Regions from separate parts of the Homo sapiens genome. Here region 2 is linked to region 1. The links are contacts of gene promoters, found by promoter capture Hi-C in human tissues and cell types (Jung and others, 2019). All regions are on one chromosome and are shown on one strand. The core of a region is centred on a gene start or on the middle of the fragment in contact, and the rest is flanking DNA. Distances in the headings are between cores, read along the strand shown.

Region 1 (5,361 bases), core at 1,071-3,570:
AATAAAAACACTAAACTTCTATAAATCAAAAAGTACTATAAAATTAAAAGGCAAATAGCAGCGGCACCACGCCTTCTCTCTGAGACAGGAAGGACTGGACCCAGCCTCATAGGTGCAGCCACCCTCCTCTCCCTTCCTGCCAATAACCTGCTTCAGCTACTGCTTGCATCTACTTTGGGCAACATGGTTGGTTGGAATGCCTCTGGCTCACAACCGTGACATACCAGACTTGGCTTCAGTGCTCGAAGAAATGAAACAGGTTATGCATGTCAGGAAGAAACCTGCTTGTTCCTGAGATCAACTCCAGGACTGCCTTCTGGGTACAGATTCTGCTGCCTTGAGAGCAGCCTCTGCCACCTGCACCAAAGGCTCCAGCTCCTACCTCTAGTCTTGTGGCTATCTTCCTTTCTAGACGCTGAAATGCATTAGAGTTAAAATCAGGCCACAATTATGAACTATCCTCTGTTTTCTCAACATCTCCCCTTCTTCCCATCCCTCTTCTGGCCAAGTGGAGGTGTCTATGATAGCATCACTGTGCTAGATTAGAAAATCTTGCTTTTAATTGGTGGTCTTAATTGATGTTCCAATTTTCTCTTGGGATTTGTACTATTTTGTTTTTAAAACTTCTTTGTGTATGGCTAAACTGAAACAAACGTACTATTTCGCCATGATAGCAATTATAAAGGGTACCTTTAAAGCATTTGAAACTGAATCATGTTGCTTCGAAGGCAATTAAAATTAATATGTAAAGCCAAAAGAAAAATAAATGGGGAAAGTACTTGTAGCAAATGTGACATGAGGGTGACTCCTTGGTGACTCACCTCTGGTAAAAGACAGGGGTCATTCTGCAAAAGCAGGATCCGAAGCTGGTTTTCATTGAGACCAAAAAGTCCATGGCTTTTCAGGACCTGCATGTTGACAGGTGTGTGGATATCATGGGAAAGGGTACAGGTAGACCTAAAAGAACAAAGCCCTCGGTCAGATGCCCAGGTGAAGAAGGACCAGTCTGTCCAATTCCTTGCCTTGAGCAGCTTTCAATGTATTTAATACATGTGAAGTTGAGTAATTTTCATGAAACCGGGGATAGTATGGCCTAATAAGCACTGATGGAAAATAAGAAAATTGGGTTGAAGGAACTCCTCTCCCAGGGTCATTTGAATTTTCAGTAGGGATGCTTTGAAGCCAAGGGTCGCCCACCTCGCCTGAGGATGCACATCTGTTCCGTAGGCGACTGCACCTGGCCTTCTCCCCGGCAACAGCTGCCACAGTCCACCAACGTTAAAAAGAAAGCGCCCCTATCCCCAGCACCGCTTTGGCGGGGTGTGTGGCTAGAGACAACCAAGGAAAATTCGGGGCTGTGAAGCACAGCCTGGGGTCAGGAGGCAGCCCCGAACCCCAGCTCTGGCAGTCAGGAACCACAGGGCCTCACCCAAGCCATCCAGCCCTGTTTCCTGGGGTGAGACTGGCTCAGCGCTGTTAAACCTAGAGGGCGCAGACCCGCTTCTGCACAAGTGTGTGGATATGGGGGAGCAGCGATTTCCGGCTAAAGGGTCCAGGGATCTCATGGGATCCTCAGACGCCCCACGCCCCCCACCTCCCGCCAAATATCACCAGAATAAGTGAGCTCCGAAGTCCCAGTCCGGATTTAACCCGGCCGCGTCGCGCAGGATCCGGGGGGGCGGGCGGGGGCAGCAACTTTTCTGGCGTGGGCGGTTGAGACGTCTCCATGGAGAGGACCTTCGCGCCTTTCCGCCCAGCTGCTGGAAGCGCGGGGGAGGACGCCCAGGAAAGGCCTGCGGGAGGGGGTCGTCCAGCCCCGCGTCCCCGGCCCGGGGCAGGACGAAGCCCCCCTTCCCGTCGCTCCCGCTTCCAGCAGGACGGCCAGGCCCGCGGCCAGCGCCCACAGTCCCCGCCCGCCGCCGCCTTCTCACCAGCAGTCCCGGTTGGGGCACTTGCCCAGCATGTGCCGGCGGCAGAAGTGCAGCTGGTCGCAGGCCTGGCACTCGCCGCGCTGGTAGCGGGCGCAGAGGCGCACAGAGGACACGGCCACCACCCTCCAGGCGGAGGTGCCGCCACCGCCCACCGCGCCGGCCGCCGCCTCGGCCTCCGCGTCCCCGAGGCCCTCCTGCGTCTCCACCTCCTGCAGCAGGAAACGCTCGGGCCCGGCGCGCTGCAGCACGTCCCGGAGCCTGGCCTCCGACAGCTCCACGTGGCCGCGCAGGTCCTTCAGGAACATGCGGCCGCCGTGGGCGCACAGCACCTTGGTGAGGAAGGAGCACACTGTGGGCTCCGCCATGGTCGCTGGCGCGGGCCCTGTGCGCGCGGCGCAGCGAGCCGGGGCGGGCAGGCTCCTCCCAGTCACGTCCACGATTTCCAGCGAACAGCCCGGGGATGGGCCTGGGCCTGGCGAGGGGTGGGCCTGCGGGAGGCCGGGCGAGGGGCGGCCCCGGCGCGTGGAAGCAGGGTACGGCGCCTGCGGATCCCCTGGACGTGGACTCAGGCGGGGACAGCGTTGATGGAGCGTCTGCTCCGCCCAGGCACCGTTCAGGGCGAAGCCTGGCCTTGAGGGGCTTGTATAGTGGGAGTCACAAAGGACTCGCCAACAAGACAACTGGTAGTGCTAGGGAGGCCTGCGGAGAAGGAGAAATAGGTAAAAGGTGGTAGGAGGTGAGTGGCCGGGCTGCTTCGCGGGAGGTGGCCACTAGCCACATGTGGCTGCTGAGCACTTCTGGGATTTTTTGTTGTTGTTGTATTTTTATTTTTGGAGACAAGGCCTCACGTTATCGCCCAGGCTGGAGTGCAGTGGCGCTATCGTAGTTCGCTGCAGCCTGGAACTCCTGGGCTCAAGCGATCCTCCCACCTCAGCCTCCTGAGTAGCTGAGACCGAAGGTTCGCATCACTAATTTTTTTGGTTTTTGTTTTGCTTTGTAGAAACGGGGTCTCCTCATGTTGCCCAGGCTGGTCTCGAACTCCTCAAGCGATCCACCTGCCTCAGCCTCCCAGAGCACTGGAATTACAGGCGTGAGCCACCCCGCGGGGCCTGCTGAGCTTTATTGGAAAGTGGCTAGTCCGAATTGAGATGTGATATAAGTGTGAAATACACACACTAGATTTTGAGGACTGAGAATGAGAAAAAGAATGTAAAATATCTCACTAACTTTATATGAATCACATGTTAAACATAATATTTTGGATATATTTGGATAAATAAAATGTTATGACAACTTCATGTGTTGCTTCTACTTTCCTAATGTAGCTATGAGGAAATTTTACATTGCAAATGTGGATTACCTTATTTTTGTTGAGCAGCACCAGTCTAGACCTGCCTTAAGCATCCATGCTTTTTGTCCAACACCTTGCTTGTTTCATGAACGTTTGTTGAGCCAACTACTAACGCAGTGACAGTACAAAGATGAATCAGACCATCAGAGAACTCAGCCAGCCTAGCTGCTATTTTGCAAGGTGCTCGTGAGGATTAAATGCATTAATGTCATGTAATGTAAAGAAGCTAGAGAGGAAGACAACTGGCCAGATGCCAGAAGACCTTCTCTGCCATGCTGTGAAATTTGGACTTATATCCCGAGAACTTTGGGAAGTCACTAAAGGATTTTCATCTGGGAAGTGTGGATGTCTCCTGAGTGCCACTCAAGGTGTGTCATTCAGCTCTGAGCTTTAATGTCTTCTCTTCAGCAAAACCTTTCCTGACCTCTCAAATCTAAAGTAGCTCCCCAGTCTGCATGGAACTTACCACTGATATTTTTCTTCTTTATTGTGTATTTATATATTTAGCTATAGAATTCAGGCTCATGAAAGCAGGAACCTTGTTTTGTTCATTGCTGTATCCCTACCACCTAAAATAGTACCTGGCCATATTGTAGGATAGGTGTTTTAGAAAGACCCCTGGCAGCAATGAGAAGAATGGATTTCTAGAAAAGCAAGACGAGGTGGGGAATAACAGAAAATAAACAGGATTTGAGGGACTATAACCCCAGTGTTATTTATGTTGAGAGTTTGCAGTGGACAACCCAAGGTAAGACGCTCAACAGGCAGGTGTATTCTGTATACAGGTCTAGACCTTGAGGGACATGAGAAGGGAAGGGATGTAGATTTGCGTGACATCAGAGCATTAGGTAACTGAGAGTTGATAAGATCACCTGGCAAAAATGAAGAGTGTGAAAAGGTGGGGGACGGGGGGAAAGAAGCTTGGCGAATACCCACATTAAATAAGCAAGTGGGGGAAGAGAAAAATAGGCAGTAGCCTACGTCCCCTTGGCACTCAGCATTTGTTCCTGAACTCTCTGCCTAAGCTTTTTCCAACAGAAGGAGGAAGCAGCCAGCAGGAAAGGCAGGCTGGAATTACCAAGGAGCCAACACCTCCAGGAAGAGCCTTCATCCAGGGATGTTGGGGAATTGGTGGTTTGAGGATGCACTCTCAACCCTAAAATTGGCATGAGGATTATTTTAAACTAAAGACATGTAAGATTCAATAGAGGCAAAAAGAAGCCTTCTTGAAGCTTCCTTTATTTCAGTAAAAGCAGAATCTTCTGGGAGTGAGGTTGCCATTCATCCCCTCTCCAGGGGTTTATGGACATGAAATAGAAAACCACGTGCACCTGCATAAACAACTTCCCTATGAACACAAACTTCCTTATCTCCTGTTTGTTCCCTAGAAACCCCTTTGTTCTTCCCATAGGAGCCTTTTTGCCCCCCTCTCTCCCCTATTAAGTTAGGTAAATAAATCATCATCACTTCTTTTGTGCAGTGCCATATGCATATATGTTTTTTCTCTTGTCAGTTAAATTTGCAGCCCCTCAGAACTGAACATAAGAGAGTGCAGGAAAAGTTTTTCCTCCCCAACAATGGATCAAACAGCCCAACTCATTCCTCGTGTGGAACCACTTGGAGGTGTACATTCCATGGTCTCCCAATGTTTCCTCAATGGAACTGAACCCCAGTTGCCCACAGCCACACCTGCTCATTAGCACTCCCCATACAGTCTTCCTTCCTTTCCTTGCCCTACCTCCCCATTCCCCTGCCAGTGTTTCTTAGGATCACCTCCCAAGTAAACTGTGTGCATTCAATCCTTGTCAGATTGCTCCTGAGAGAACATAGCCTAACATATAAACTGATAAGGAGAGGTTAGAGAAAAATGAGAGTCATTCATGGACACGCAGAGGAGAGAGTTTCAAGGAGAAAGTGATCAGCATGGTGAGATACTACAGGGAGGAGCTTTCCTACAAGGGAAAGCTTGTAGACAGTGATAACCTAGGCAGGTTTATTTCAGAGGAATAATGAGAAAAGGTAGATTTCTGTAGGTTAAAAAAAGAAGAATAGAAAAACCGAGGACTTTACTTCTAAAAG
Region 2 (5,680 bases), core at 9-2,508, 49 kb before region 1:
AAATCACCTGGACACCACAAACAAAACAAAACAGAACACCCCCAGGCCACACTTCAGACCAGTAAAATCCAAATCTCTGCAGACCAGGCTTGGACAGCCCTGTCTTTTAAAAGCTTCCCAGGATTCCAGTGTGTAAGAACCATTGAGCTAGATGTCTAAGAGTGAGACTTTATAATCACTTACTGAAAGTGGTAAGACATACCAGACCTAGAGAGGCGCAGCAGAGAAGAGAGAAAAGGGAAGCTGATATAGAACAAGGAGAGCTTAAAGATCTGGCTGAAGGGTTTGGACTTAATTTTGTAGGTGACGGTGGATCATTAAAGATTTGTTCAGATATTATTAGAACTAAGCACAAGAAGGATTACTCTATTAACATTATATAAGATGATTTGGAAAGAGAAAAGACTAAAGAGGAGACCAATTAAAACAAGATTTTTTTTTTTTTTTTTTTTTTGAGATGGAGTCTAGCTCTGTCACCAGGCTGGAATGCAGTGACGCAATCTATGCTCACTGCAACCTCTACCTCCCCGGTTCAAGCGATTCTCCTGCCTCAGCCTCCCGAGTAGCTGGGACGGCAGGCGCACATCACCACGCCCAGCTAATTTTTTTGTATTTTTAGTAGAGGCGGGTTTTCACCATGTTGGCCAGGCTGGTCTTCATCTCTTGACCTCGAGATCCGCCTGCCTCGGCCTCCTAAAGTGCTGGGATTACAGGCGTGAGCCACTGCACCTAGCCAGAACAAGATCTTAATGCTGCTGCATGAATATCAAGGATCAAAATATTTTTCACCATCAAACAGACAAAACTTTTAAAATTTTGATTATATTCATTTGTATATTCAAGTGTATAGCAAAATAGGCACTCTCGAATTCTACTGGTGTAGCCATTTTGGAGGATAATTTGACCTTATCTATCAAAATATAAAATCAGCTCACTTCCTTTTCCTTTTTTTTTTTTCAAGTCAAGTTTAATTCAGCTGGCAAATTTAGTCAGGTAATTTAATCAGATAAAATTCACCTTTTTTGGCCAGGCGTGGTGGCTCATGCCTGTAATCCTAGCACTTTGGGAGGCCAGGATGGGTGGATCACGAGGTCAGGAGTTTGAGACCAGCCTGACCAACCTGGCAAAACCCCGTCTCTACTAAAAATACAAAAATTAGCCAGGTGTGGTGGTGCGTGCCTGTAATCCCAACTAGTCGGGAGGCTGAGGCAGGAAAATAGCTTGAACCCGGAAGGCGAAGGTTGCAGTGAGCAGAGATCACATCATTGCACTCCAGCCTGGTGACAGAGCGAGACTCTGTCTCAAAAAATAAATAAATAAATAAATAAAAGTTCGCCTTTTTTTTTTCAGGTTTTAAAAATAATCTTTATTTTTTAAAAGTTAATATGTACAATTCAGGAAACTGAAAAACACAAGAAGCAAAGAACAAAGCTATCCACAATCATAAGCAGTTTGATGAAAATTCACCTTTTAAAAATGTTCAGTGAGTTTCAACAATTCTATGAAATCCTATAACCACCACCACATTCAAGGTAAAGAACATTTACATTGCCCTTAAAGTTCCCTTGTGCCAGCTTGCAGTCTATCCCATACCCTCCCTCTGACAGCCACTGATCTGATTTCTGTTTCTACAGCTTTGCCTTTTCCAGCATTTGACATAAATGGAATTATATAGTATGTAGCACTTTGTGTCTGGTTTCTTTTACTTAGCATAATGTCTGAGATTCATCCAAGTTGTTGCATGCGTCAGTAACTTGTTCCTTTCTATTGCTTAGTAGTATTCCATTGAATGGATATACCACAATTTGTCCAGTCACCAACTGATGAACATTTGGATTGTTTCCAGGTTTTTGGTCATTATTAATAATGCTGCTAAAAACATTTGTTTTCAGGTATTTTGTGTGAACATATGTTTTCATTTCTCTTGGGTAAATACCTAGGAGTAGATCTGCTAAGTCATGTGATAAATGTAAATTTAACTGGGTGGCGTGATAAATGTAAATTTAAACTGCCCAACTGTCTTCCCAGGTGGGATATATTTTAGATCCCCACCAGCAATGTATGAAAGGTCTAGTTGTTCCATACCCTTGTTAGCACTTGATTTTGTTAGCCTTTTTAATTTGAACCATTCTAGCAAGTGTCTAATGATATCTCATTGTGCACTTAATCTGCCTTGTCCTCATGACTAATGATATTGAACACTCTCCATGTGTTTATTTGCAATCAATATGTCTTCTTTGGTGGCATGTCTGTTCAAATCTTACCAAATTGTATATTTATGTATTCTAAATACAAATCTTTTATCCGATGTGTGTTTTGCAAATGTTTTCTCCTAGTCCATAACTTGTCTTTTCATTCTCTTAAGATATTCAAAGAGAAGAGGTTTTTAACTTTGGTGAAATACACTTTTTTATTATTTTTTTCTTTTTTGTTTCATGTTTTTTGTGTCCTAAAAAATATTTGCCTAGCTCGAGGTCACAAATATTTTCTCTCATGTTTCTATCCAGAAACTTAATGTTTTAGCTCTTATGTTTCAGTCTATGATCCATTTGAGTCAACTTTGATGTATTTTGTGAGATTAAAGGGTTGAAGTTAATTTTGTGGGTGTGATGTCTAGTTGTTATAGCACCATTTGTTGCAGACTATCCTTTTGCCATTTAATTGACTTTATATTTTCTCAAAATTAATTGACTAGGTATGTGTGGATTTATTTCTAGACTTTGTATTCTCTTCCATGGAAGACTCACATATTACATGGGCATGGGGGAGTAAGATACTGTATAGTATAATCCCACTAATGAAAAAAAAGTGGGATTGTGATTGTAAACCCACTTTTTAAAAAAGTATGAGTGTAAACAGTCGTTACTACTGGGAAAGGAAATCAAGTTTAGAGAGGAGTTGGGAAGTGAATGTATGAAGGGGAAAATTCACTTTTTGCTCCATATAATCATACACCTGATTACAATAATCTTACCTGTGATTAATACACATCATATCATCTGAACTTTTTTCTTTATTTTTCATTTATTTAACTCCACTCCTGTGACAGATTAGATAGCATTTGAATTTTTGACACCAGCATATACTGCTTTTGTATTTCAAAATTTTTCTAAATAAAAACTTTGTGGGTTTGAATGGAAATTAGAAAATGGATGAGACACATTCTGGATGCTAAATGAGTCGGTGAGATATGAGGAGAGGAAAGAATGAAAGATGATTCAGAGATTTTGGACCATCTGTGGAAGGATAGGAAAAAAAGGAATTCAGCTGGAAAGCCTGGGTGAGAAGCAAAGATGGAGGGTTGGGTTCTGAGTGTGTTGGCTGTGAGGTGCTGGACCCATACCAGGGAGCTGTGCTGACGCCAGCGATGGCGAAGGTGAGCTGAGGGCTTGGAAGATGTGACTCCAGATATGGAATCATTCATACGGCGTCATTAGCTAAAGATGAGAGAGTAAATGACTGCCTAGAAAGGGAGGGGAGAAGGCAAGAAAAGAGGGCCAAGGAGAGCCCTGGAGAAAGACCTTCGTTTTGGAAAGGCTGAAGAGGAGTCCGTGAAAAAGGCAGAGAAAGATCTAGAAAGAAAGCGGAGAAGCACAATGGAAATGTGGTGTCACCAACAGCCTGGGAAACAAGTTTTAAAATAGAGAGGACAGTCAATGTCAAAGACAACAGGACTGAGAAGACCTCTTTGGACTTGCAGATGCAGTTGTTAAAAAGAGACTTTCCTTCTGTGCCTGGCTCATTTTGTCCTCCGGGTTCATCCATGCAGTCTCAAATAACAAGATTTCCTTCTTTTTTAAGGCTGAATAGTATTCCATTGTGTCTGTATACACCACATTCTCTTTATCCATTCATCCCACAATGGACATATAAGTTGATTCCATATCTTGGCTTTTGTGAATAAGCTGCAGTGAACATGGAGGTGCAGATACCTCTTCAACTGATTTCATTTCCTCTGAATGTATACCCAATAGTGGGATTGCTGGACCATAGGATAGTTTTACTTTGAATTTTTTGAGGACCCTTCATACTGTGTCGAAGTGAGGGGGTGGCAGGGGAGGAGAGGCAAACAAAAAGGGGTAAAAGAATGAGTGGGTTAGGAAGTAGTGGAGGCCACAGAAGATGGCGGGTAACAGGGTTGAGATATTTTTTAGGATAGGTAAGACTGAACATCCTTGTAGATTTAAGAGGTGTCCAAAGACAACGAGAGAATAAGATCCAAGAGAGGGATCATCGATAGAGCAAATTCTCAGAGCTAAGAGCAGATGGAATCAACAGCAACAGGTCATTCTTTTGAAATGGCAGCTTCAGCCAGGCGCTGTGGCTCACACCTGAAATCCCAGCACTTTGGGAGGCCGAGGCGGGCGGATCATGAGGTCAGGAGATCGAGACCATCCTGGCCAACATGGTGAAACCCCATCTCTACTGAAAATACAAAAATTAGCCTGGTGTGGTGGCACAAGCCTGGAGTCCCAGCTATACTCGGTAGGCTGAGACAGGAGAATTGCTTGAACCCGGGAGGCGGAGGTTGCAGTGAGCTGAAACTGCACCACTGCACTCCAGCCTGATGACAGAGCGAGACTCCATCTTAAAAAAAAAGATATGGCAGCTTCAGCAGCCCAATGTCCAGTGTCAGGAGAGTGGCTTAATGGCTTGATAAAATCACCATACAGTAACACATGGAAATGTTATACTTCTGTGAAAAAACATAGGAAGTGTTTGGGTTATAATGTTAAGTGGAGGAAAAAATATATATAAAATGGTTTATGAGCTGATATAAAACAATGTGTATGACTGAGAAAGAACTGCGCATACTTAAAATTGTTGTATTGAGGTAATGGGATTATGGGCATTCATCCTCTCCTTTGATGATGATGTTGTATTTGTCTTTTCAATAGAAAATGTTTACAAGAACGAACAATCTTCTTCCAAAAGAAGAGAGAAAGGACAGATTAATCAAGGTAAAGGCCTTAAGTAGTCTCTAAAGTGATTTCTTCCCCGGCCGGGCTTGGTGGCTCATGCCTGTAATCCCAGCACTTTGGGAGGCCGAGGCAGGTGGATCACCTGAGGTCAGGAGTTCAAGACCAGCCTGACCAACATGAAGAAACCCCGTCTTTACTAAAAATACAACATTAGCCAGGTGTGGTGGTGCATGCCTGTAATCCCAGCTACTCAGGAGGCTGAGGCGGGAGAAATGCTTGAACCTGGGAGACGGAGGTTGCAATGAGCCGAGATTACGCCATTGCACTCCAGCCTGGGCAACAAGAGTGAAACTCCGTCTAAAAAAATAAATAAATAAATAATAAAATAAAGTGATTTCTTCCTTTTCAACATCAGTGTCTCAATGTCAGGTGGCAGTATTTGGACTAAAACACAAAAATCCTAAAGAGGAAAAGATAGCATGAGCTAGAGTAGGTATGGAAGGTTTCACAGAGTACGTGGGGCTTAACCTGGGTCTTGAACAATGAGAACAATGGGTAGCATTTGTTAAAGGAAGGAAAAAGAAAAGGGAGAGGAGGGGGTATTGTAGAGGAAAGCAAAGGCAAGAAGACAGAAATGGACAGAATGTGACCTCAGACAAGGCTGCTTAACTAGAGGAAAAGCTATTTGGAGGAATTTGAAGACAAAAGAGCAAATAAATAGGATAAGGTCAGATTTAGACCTGCCATGAGTTAGACCA

What was found. Contacts are between HindIII fragments. The study calls those that stand out against the background at their distance.
Region 2: a fragment that was not itself captured here is called in contact with the fragment with the promoter of ZC3HAV1L in region 1 in 1 of the 25 tissues and cell types used here (thymus).

Annotation. Positions count from the first base shown.
Region 1 is chr7:139,033,722-139,039,082 of GRCh38, forward strand. It overlaps ZC3HAV1L (ZC3HAV1 like), which reads right to left and starts at 2,321. Exons shown (of 5, transcript NM_080660.4): 1 at 1,932-2,321; 2 at 822-957. The coding sequence starts at 2,296. LOC107986852 (a long non-coding RNA gene) reads left to right here and starts at 2,462. Exons shown (of 2, transcript XR_007060557.1): 1 at 2,462-2,650; 2 at 2,932-3,229. RefSeq lists silencers at 1,634-2,153, 2,404-2,613 and an enhancer at 1,728-2,647. The HindIII fragment of the contact is 9,430 bases long and covers 1-4,880 here.
Region 2 is chr7:138,986,111-138,991,790 of GRCh38, forward strand. No RefSeq gene overlaps it. Among named protein-coding and RNA genes, the nearest start is that of KIAA1549, 7.6 kb to the left of the region's middle. The HindIII fragment of the contact is 6,153 bases long and covers 1-4,335 here.